Regions from separate parts of the Homo sapiens genome. Here region 1 is linked to region 2. Evidence: promoter capture Hi-C in human tissues and cell types (Jung and others, 2019). All regions are on one chromosome and are shown on one strand. Each heading gives the region's core, a stretch centred on a gene start or on the middle of the fragment in contact. The rest is flanking DNA. Distances are from core to core; before and after follow the strand shown.

Region 1 (5,327 bases), core at 2,343-4,842, 340 kb before region 2:
CAAACAATCCAATAGCTCAGTCATTGCTGTGCAAATGCAAAATGGTACAGCCACTTTGGAGGACAGTTTGGCAGTTTCTTAGAAAACTAAGCATACTTTTACCATATGATTTAGCAGCCATGCTCCTTGGTATTTACCCAAATGGGTTGAAAACTTATGTCCATACACAAACCTGCAGATGGATGTTTATAGCAGCTTTATTCATGATTGTCCAAACTTCGGAGCAACCAAGATGTCCTTCGGTAGATGATTGGATAAAATTATGTTGTACATCTATATGAGGGAATAATAATCACTGTTAAGAAGAAATGAGCTATCAAGCCATGAAAAGACATGGAGGGACCTTAAATGCCTGTTCCTAAGTGGAAGAAGTCAGTCTGAAAAGGCTATATACTGTATGATTCCAAATATATAACACTTTAGAAAAGACAAAACTATAGAGACAGTAAAAAGATCAGTGGCAGCTGGGAGTTGAGGGGGAGGGAAGAGATGCAAGGGAGGAAGTGTGGAATGAATAAGTGAACCACAGGGGTTTTTAGGGCAGTAAAACTATCATGTATGATACTGTAATGGTGGATACATGACATGATGTATGTCTCAGCTCAGGCTGCTATAACAGAATACCAGACCAAGTGGCCTAAATGGCATTTATTTTTCATGCTTCCGGAAGTTGAGAAGTCCAAGATTAAGATGCTGGCAGATTTGATTCTTAGGCCTTCTTGAATCCTCATGTGGTAGACAGAGGAAGCTCTAGGTCTGTCTTCCATTTCTTATCTGGGCACTATCCCATCATTGTCGCTCCATCCTTATGACCTTGTCTAAACCTAATTACCTCCCTAGCACCCTACTTCCTAAAACCATCGTGTTGGAGGTTAGCACTTCAAAATGTGAATTTGTGGGGACACAGAAATTCAAGCCATAACAATGCATTTGTGAAAACCTGTATAGTGAACCCTAATGTAAACTATGGGCCTTGGTTGATAATAAAGTATCAGTATTGGTACATCAATTGTAGCAGATGAACAATACAAATGTTAGACCTTAATAATAGGGGAAACTGGGAGAATGACAGGTATACAGCAACTCTCTACTTTCTGTGTAGTTTTTCTACAAAACTAAAACTGCTTTAAAAATAAAATCTCAATAAAAAATAGTAGAACTTCATTAGAATTTAACATGTTCTAATATATAGATCCAATTTAAGCCAAAAAATGAGTTATTTGTACTTGTACAGAACTGGAATCAGTGTCTTTCTTCTTCTTTCTTCCCTTTTCTCCAATCCCTCAACCTTCTCAAATGCTTTTCATTATGAACAGAAAGTTTACAAAAAAAGCAAAATGCAAATGGCGGTTAAGTGTGTGAATAGGTGCTCAACATCATTCAGAGTAAGATAGGCAAGTGGAAACTAAACTGAAACACCTATTGTCACCTTATCAGATTGGCAGAAATCCACCAGAGGGATATCACCTTGGGTCGACAAGGCTGTGGAGGACCAGGGAGTCTCATATTCAGCTGTTGATTGTACATGCGTGCTTAATACCATGTACGGAACAATTTGACAGAATCTACTTATATTACAACTGTGTATATCCTTTGACCGAGCAGTTCTGTCTTTGGGAATGTATTCCACAAATATACTTGCCTGTGCACAAAATGACAAATGTTGGAGGAAATTTATTGCAGCACCCTTACTAATAACAAAAATATTGGAAATAGTGTAAATGTCCATCACTGGTCGATAAAGTATGGGTGCTGTCTAGGTACTAATATGGAAAGATCTCTAATATTAGGAAATACAAAAAAGGAAAATGCTGAACAGTATTTCTGTATGCTCCTTTTATATAAACATGGAGAAAATATTAATATATTCTGATTGTACATGTGGGCAGGAGGCACAGTGGGGCATTGGGAAGATGAGGGCAGGGGTAGGGGTATCACTTTATACCTTTTTTCCTAACCATGTGACTGTATTACCTTCAAACTATAGTTCAAAAAGATATAGGTATATACATTTTTTAATAATAAATTCAGAATAGCTAGGATAAATCGCTTTTGCTGTTGTTAAACCTTAAAAATTATTTTTATCTACCTATGAATATTCATCTTCCCTCGAGTGTTTTCGGTATGGCAAGTTCTGAGTTGTTAAAATTGATTGTTATTGTCACTTTGTAACTGAGAGGGTCTCCCTAGTGAAAACCTGACTTTCTCAAAGAAGTAGTTCAAATTTCTCCTTACTTTTCTGACAGTAGTGTGCCTCAAGCATATCTTAAGAACATAACAAGTAATAAACCATAAACCAGTATTTTCTTCAAGAAAATATATCAGCGGAGAACAGAAAATGTTATCTTTGAAAAAAATATGCAGTTATAAAAAGTTGTAACTCTTTTTTGTTACAAACTCTCTGTTCAATTGTATGAAGTTGCTCTCTCTCAGAGCAAAGACTTGCCAGTTGGCTTTACTTCTTTCATCCCCTTTCTTCTATATCCACTGCCTCTGTACATTTTTCCCACTTCCCTTGCTCTGACAAAGATATCAAAGGTTACATTAAAGCAAAACCTGAGAAGCTTGAGTTATTGCTGATAAGTTCAACAAGGAGTAAATTTAAATGCAATCTGAGAAGTAGAAGATGGGAAGCATTCCTTCCTGAATCCACATGCTCTGTTAGGCCCTAAGGCACAATAAAATGTGGGACATGAACCCTGGGCCCCGAAGCTGATGACAGTGGAGGTCACAAAGTGATCACCCACTCTAAGAATTCTACACACAGTGATATCTATACGTTTCTCTCTCCGCCAGGCTTCTTGTCTTTACTCTCATCAGTGTTTGGACAGCTCCTGACAGAACAAAGGCTGGGTTTGGTGTTCTGTAATCCCAGCTCTTTGGGAGGCTGTGGGAAGATTGCTTGAGCTCAGGAGTTCAAGACCAGCCTGGGCAACATGGCAAAACCCCGTCTCTACAAAAAATACAAATATTAGCTGGGTATGGTGGTGCACACCTGTAGTCCCAGCTACTCTGGAGGCTGAGGTGGGAAGATCACTTGAGCTCGGCAAGCAGAGGTTGTAGTGAGCTGAGATAGTGCCACTACACAGCCTGGGTGACAGAGTGAGACCCCGTCTCAAAAACAAAAAATACAAAAAAAAAATGCATTGCCTGTGTTGTAGGCAATGATATTTCTAATGTAAGGAAACATGGTCATAGATTTGGGAGATGTAGGTCATTTTCAGGATATTCACCCTTAACCTGAGAACTGGTTTAGCAGATTTTGCTGAGTTGTTTTTAGATGGTTTGTTTGGAATCCTAGTTTAATTATTCATTGTTTTACCTGTGATTTTGGGATAAATATATATGATAAAGTAAAAGTCTTTTTAAAATAAAGTTTTTAATTTTAAGATAGTTTTAGATTACAGAAAAGTTAACAAGCTAGAACTGATAGTTCCCATATACACCATAGCTAGTTTCCCCTACTTTTAACATCTAACACTGGTATGGTACACTTGTTATAATTAGTGAACAACTATTAATATTATTAACTAAAGTTCATGCTTTATTCAGATTTCCTTAGTTTTTATCTGATAAGACTCATCTTGTATATTTCCTGCTGCGGTCCTAGACTCAGCCATTTTTCCAAGGAGCTCTGGTTCCTTTGTTTTGGACAATGGTATTAGAAACCAAGATCTGTGTGCATCTCTTAACTTTTTTTTTTTTTTTTTTTTTTGAGGCAAAGTCTCACTCTGTAGCCCAGGCTGGAGTGCAGTGGTGCAATCTCAGCTCACTGCAAGCTCCTCCTCCCGGGTTCATGCCATTTTCCTGCCTCAGCCCACGGAGTAGCTGGGACTATAGGCACCTGTCACCAGGCCTGGCTAATTTTTTGTATTTTTAGTAGAGACGGGGTTTCACCGTGTTAGCCAGGATGGTCTCGATCTCCTGACCTAGTGATCCGCCCGCCTTGGCCTCCCAGCATCTCTTAACTTTTAACCTGAATCCCTCTATTTAAGATGGATTTCTTGCAGTTAACATAGTTGAGCCTTGCTTTTTATTCTAACTCTGACATATATTTAGGCCACCTGGAGTGTCCTGCACCCTGCCGTCCTCGCCATGACTGTGTCAGGTGACCACAGGAGGTCGATTGTGTGTTCTCCTTGCACTGTTGTAGAGCCACCCACTTTCCTGTGGCCCCTGCGGTACCACATCTGCCTTATAGCTAACAGTTTAAGGTTTACAAGTGTGTATTTCTCTATTGTGACTTAAATTCTCACTTGATACAATTAAAGTAAATGAAGTAAGTATATAGTAGAATGAAATCATAATCTTAAGATATCACTTTGCTTTGTAGGCCTTAGTTAGAGAATATTTCTGGGCACACAGTTTTTATATGTTCCTTGGTTTTTTTACTTGTCAAGTGATCAAAATAATTGTTGAAAAAACAAAGCAAGCTCCAAATCACACATAACCCTCTTACAGATTTTATTTCCTTTCACCATCATCAGATCTGCTCTAGAAACTGCTTTGTGCATGAAATGTGGCTCTGAATGAGAGGAAAACAAACTTTAACACATGTAAATTGCTTTAAGCTGTATAAGATGTGTTCTTTGGTGACACAGGGCATGCCAAAGCCTTGAAAGCCAGCTTTCTCACCCTAGGGACAAATGACAACCCCATCATTCAGTGTCCCTCAACTACAACAAGCCTCTTGATTAGCAGGTCCCTACAATGGAGATTATATTTTAAGAGAGAAGAGCCAATGAGACACATGATTTAATTTGTCTGTAACCCTTTAGATTATTTTCTTGCATTAATTTGGTCTAATTGATATTTCCCCCAATCACCTTTTCTATTAAATGATGAAATAGAGAAGGATCCGGGTGCAGTGACTCATGCCTGTAATCCCAGCACTTTGGGAGGCCGAGGCAGGTGGATCACTTGAGGTCAGGAGTTCGAGACCCGCCTGGCCAACATGGTGAAACCCGTCTCTACTAAAAATACAAAAAAATTAGCCAGGCGTGGTGGTGCATGCCTGTAATCCCAGCTACTCAGGAGGCTGAGGCAGGAGAATCGTTGGAACCTGGAAGGTGGAGGTTGCAGTGAGCCGAGACTGTGCCATTGCACTCCAGCCTGGGCAACAAGAGTGAAACTCCGTCAAAAAAAAAAAAAAAAAAAAGAAGGAAGGAAGTAAAATACTTTTCATGCTTTCATACTGAGCAGTTCTCCCTCTCTCATTGTTTTGACTCTTCTAACATATTCCCTTTTTTCCCTGTATACTTCTTTTAGATTCCAGCTATTAATATTTATTGAGACTCAGAAACCAATACCCCCAAATACTGCACTTT
Region 2 (5,078 bases), core at 837-3,336:
ATACAAATGGCAACCAGAGTATGTAACCTTTTGAGACTGACTTTTTTTCACCCAGCATAATGCCCAAGTTGTGGCATGTGTCAATTGTGCCTTTCTATTGTTGAATGATATTCTTTATATAGATGTAATCACAGTTTATTTAACCATTCACCTATCGAGGGGCATTTTGTTTGTTGACAGTTTTTGACAATTACAAATAAAGAAAGTAGGAACAATTGTGTACAAGTTTGTGTGTTAACATAAGTTTCCATTTCTCTGGAATAGATGCTCAGGAGTGTGATTGATGAGTCATATGGGAAGCATATGTTTAGTTTTTTAAAAGAAACTACCATGATATACCCATCTGTGAGTAATATATGAGAGATCCAGTTCTGTGCATACTCACCAGCATTTGCTATTTTATTTTTTAAGCTGTTTTGTAGTTGTTGTTGTTGTTTGTTTGTTTTTGAGATGGAGTCTTGCTCTGTAGCCCAGACTGGAGTGCAGTGGCGCGATCTCGGTTCACTGCAACCTCCGCCTCCTGGGTTCAAGTGATTCTCCCCTGCCTCAGCCTCCTGAGTAGCCGGGTTTACAGACGCGCACCAACACATCCAGCTAATTTTTGTATTTTTAGTAGAGACGAGGTTTCACCATGTTGGCCAGGCTGGTCTTGAACTCCTGACCTCGTGATTCGCCAGCCATGGCCTCCCAAAGTGCTGGCATTACAGGCATGAGCCACCGCGCCCTGCCTTTTTAAGCTGTTTTAAATAGGTGTATGGTGATATCTCAGCATAGTCTTAATTTGCATTTCCTTTATGGCTAGTGATGAACATCTGTCCTTATTTGCCATCTGTATAACTACTTTGGTAAAATATATATTAATGTCTTCTGTATATTTAAAAACTTATGATCCAGGATACAGTTTATCTTAATATATATACCAAGGTTGCTTGAAAAGAATGTGTATTCTGTTGGTGGGTGAAGTATTATGTAAATATCAATTAGATTAGGATGGTATTAGTGTTGATCTTTTCTATATCCTTGCTGACTTTCTGTCTAGTGTTCTATCAGTTGTTGAGAGAGGGATGCTGAAGTTTCCAATTACAGTTGCAGAGTTGTCTATTTCTAATTATGGTTCTATCATTTGATTTATTTATGTTAAGGCTATGTCGTTAGGTGTATCCACATTTAGAATTATGTCTTCTTGGTGAATTGAACCTTTTATCATTATATAATTATCCCTTTTTTATTCTTGGTAATTTTCCTTGCTGTCAATTCTACTCTCTCTGAAAGTAATATCACCACTTCAGCCTTTCAGTTTATTATCATCTAAACAACACTATTCAGCCTTTGCAGTCATCCACAATTATTAGAATTTCTTGGTTAGAGGCTTTTGACTACATGTTTTTAAAGGTTTTTGGCTGTATTGACAAATTGCCCTGCAAAAATTTACCAACTTAATACCTTAACATTTGGGCTAATTTAAAATAATCATAAATTAAAGTCAGGGCTTTCCCAATTTGATAGGTAGAAATCTTATAACTCTATGGAGGTGGAGTTGGTGGTGGTAGGTGCATCTCTAGATGACTTAAGTTCAAAAAAAGTCAAGAGATCTAAAAAAGAAGTCAAAAGATCTAAAATTCATAACTCAAGAAATAGGGGCATATGTATATTCGGAGAATCCGCGGGAATGCCAGATGCCACAGCCATAAGTAGCTGCCCTTGAGGACTGGACAGCCAGGACTGGACGGTGGGATAAGGTGACAGCTGGTTAATGGAATGGTGCCGCAGAGGACTGGTGCTTTTGTAAGTTCTCTGTAGCATTACAATTTTTAAAAGCATGTAAACGTATTAATTACCTTGACTTTACAATGACATTTGGTTGTTGGTTAAACTTGCATTTAAATTTATTATCAGAACTGCCATAACTGTGTAATCCTAACACTAAGTAAAACTCAGCCTCTCGGCGCAAATTATCACTCCCAACATTCCGCAGGCTGGTGGCGGCGCGGGCTGTCCTCGTACGCAAAACTACACCTCCCAGGATTCCGCGAGCCAAGGTTGTGGCCGGGGCCAGGGCAACCGAACTCGCGGCTCTGCGCAGGCGCACAGGCTCCGCGCCGGGCTCGCCCGCCGGGCAGGCGCACGGCGGACACCTGCGAGCCTGGAGGTGGCGGTCGCTGCGAACCCGGCGGCGCGGCCAAACCTGTGCTGGCTGCCTGGGCCTTCTGGGCCTCCTGGGCCAGAAGCTGGCGCTGGGGGCGGCGGCGGGGTGGGAAAGCGGCGCCGCCGTGGGGCCTCCTGGACGCGTCGGCGGAGGTGGCTTCGTCCCGCGGAGTCCAGGCTTCAGGTAAGACGCGCGCGCGCTTGGGGCTGGAGCGGACTCCGACACCCGCCTGGGACTTGAAGTGGAGGTGTCGAACCCTCGGCCCCCTGGAGGGGACGACGCGGTGCTGGGCCCCGGGGTGAGGGGGAGGTTCTAGGACGCCTTCGGGATCCAGGAGAGTTTGCAGAACTGAGGGGTGACGTGTGAAGCGAGCTGAGGGAGGCGCGGGAGGTGGGCGGGGCGGGGGTGGACCCTCAGGGTCGGGGGCCGGGGATTGGGGGTCGGGGGCCGGGGGCCGGGGACCTGGGCAACGCCCTGGGGCTTGCCAGTTCGAGCCCTCAGCTCGTGGCAGGCACTGGCGTCGGGTCCTCAGGCCCTTTTGCTTTGGGAGGTGATGGGTGGTGCACATTTGGCGGGGGTGGTGGGGAGCCACGCGAGGTGCGCGGAGCGGGCCTGGGCCTCCCCAACTGCCTTTGAAGGCAGAACCCCGGCAGGCCTGCAGCTGATTCCTGGGCGCTTTGGGGGCCAGTAGGGCACCTACCATGTGTGTCCGGTGGTAAGAGCTTGCCACGGCCTGCTTGGCAGTGCCAGAGTAGCCTCTGAAGAAGGAACCCAGTGAACTCCTGACTCCATGTGTGTGTTTAGGAACCCGTCTCCAGCTCACTGATGGGAACTCTCTGCTAAAGTATGTGACCGTCAGGCCAGAGTCTTGCACCAGGTGCAGGGCGACCAGTGTCTGCCTACTTTATTGCCAGCCAACACTTAGAGCGTACTCTTGGGAGAAGCAAGGCTCCGCGTGGAAAAGGATGACTTCAGGGTTATGGGGCGAGCTTGATAGGACTTAGTAGCTAAGAGCATAGACAGAGGAGGTTTCATTCACCAAATGTTTACTACAATATGTGCCCCGCCTTCAAATCTTGGTTCTCGGCTACTAGCGGTGTGCGTTTAAGCAAGTCACTTATCCTCTCTTAGCCTCTGTTTCTTTCTCTGTGAAGTGGAGATGAAAGTACAGTGCCTTTATCACGGGGTTGCAGTGGGGATGAAATAGTGCCAGGCAAGTCCTCAGCCCAGTATGTCTAACAGTAAGTGTGTGGCAAATATCAGCAGTCGTGGTGACTAACGACAGAAAGTGTTAGAGGTGCTTGGAGTCCAGGTTCATCTTTAATGGTACTAGCTGCCCTCTCTGGCTCTCATGAATCTTGCAGATCTTCCAGCTCATCCTTTCAATATTAATTTTGAGGAATCTCAGTCCCTGCAGAGCTAGGAAAGAGCATAGGTCCCCTCATCCCCAGGGGTGGTCAGCACGTTCCTTCCTGAGCCTTGGGCCCCTGCGAGAACGAGAAGGAGAGTGGAGATCTTCAGCAGAAAGGAGGGCATGGTGCTGGTGGCTGGGCCCACCGTGGCCATGTAAGCATGCTAGTTGGCAAGTTCTTGCTCTGAGCCTTGCTTTAGAAAATATTTAGCAATAAACAAAGCCTTCTAGTAAATATTGCACTAACTAGAAAATTAGATTACCAAATCCCCCATTCCAAGGGTCCTTGCCAATCTCAGCTTGGTTGTCAGTGGGATACTTTCCCCCCAGGACCTACCAATCACGTGATTCCCAGGGTTTCTTAAATTGGATGAAATAATGAATGTGAAAGGTGGAACCTGCAAATGTCATCACGGGCTTTGGAGTCCGTCTTGGTTTTGAATCCTAACCCCTCTACTTAATTGCTGTGTATCACTGGGCAATTCACTTAATGCCTCTAAGCATACCTTCTTAAATGTGAAATTGAATTAATAGCATTTACTTCAGGTAGTGGGGAATAAATGAGATAATGCGTGTAAAACAGTTAGCACTGTGCCTGGCTGAGAGTGAAAGCCAGTGAACAGGAGTTATTTTACCATTACGATTAATAATAATATTAGAAAAATAATTGTCAGACATGGTGTTTTGCCTTTGCTGTCTCTTTGAATTCACAAAACTACCCTGTGAAGTAGGTATAATTGTGTTTTTCAAGCCAGGAAGTGAAGGCTTGGAGAGGTAAAGAATTGGCCTAAGGTCACTTAGCTGCTAAGTGACAGGGATGGGAATTCATATCCTGGCATCTCCAGCTCCAGAACTGGTGCCATGTAATTCTCCTTCTCTGCTGCCCATCGTCCTTGCTGTTCTTGCATTCTTGAAGCCCAGTTATGACCTGGGGCAGCCTCCAGTCTTGCAGCAGGGAGTCTTCCCGCACCAAGTGGGTCAGAGGCAGGACCCTGCAGCCTGGCTGTGTGTTTCCTCTCTGTGGCTGGTGTTGGATGCATGGTGAAGCTGTAGGGGACAGTCCCTGAGTGAGTTCAGGGGAGGAGGTGTTAGGAAGAGGCAGCCCAGGCAAGCCCTGTCGCCTCTTTAGGGTCTCATCACTGGACAGCAGGGCTGGGTGAGGGGGCAGTGCTGGGTGAGGGTGCAGGCTGGGTGGGATCTGGGAAGCTTGTGTATGAGAAGAAATGCCTTCGTTTAGCTCCTGGGAAATGTTCTGGGGCTGCATAATTCTCTGAGCCTTATCTTTGCTTTGTGAGGGAGAGCAGCCCTTGAGCTGTGGATAAGGGAGGAGAAGGAGCCCTGGACTGAGAGCCAACATTCTGCCATTTTAATCCTGGCTGCCTGTGAGAGCTCACACTGCCTCTCCAGACCTCTTTTATGAAATAAAGAGTTGGAGGAAATCATTTCTAAGGGTTCTTGTAGCTCTAAAGGGCAGTGGTTTTGTAATTCTAAATTGATGGCCTAACCCTCTCAGCACAGTAC

Evidence for each region. Contacts are between HindIII fragments. The study calls those that stand out against the background at their distance.
Region 1: a fragment that was not itself captured here is called in contact with the fragment with the promoter of POMGNT2 in region 2 in 1 of the 25 tissues and cell types used here (hippocampus).

The regions. Positions count from the first base shown.
Region 1 is chr3:43,443,511-43,448,837 of GRCh38, reverse strand. All of the region lies in intron 11 of ANO10 (anoctamin 10), which reads left to right. Among named protein-coding and RNA genes, the nearest start is that of SNRK-AS1, 94 kb to the right of the region's middle. The HindIII fragment of the contact is 5,138 bases long and covers 1,024-5,327 here.
Region 2 is chr3:43,103,087-43,108,164 of GRCh38, reverse strand. POMGNT2 (protein O-linked mannose N-acetylglucosaminyltransferase 2 (beta 1,4-)) reads left to right here and starts at 2,086. Exons shown (of 2, transcript NM_032806.6): 1 at 2,086-2,329. RefSeq lists a silencer at 1,999-2,318. The HindIII fragment of the contact is 11,007 bases long and covers 1-5,078 here.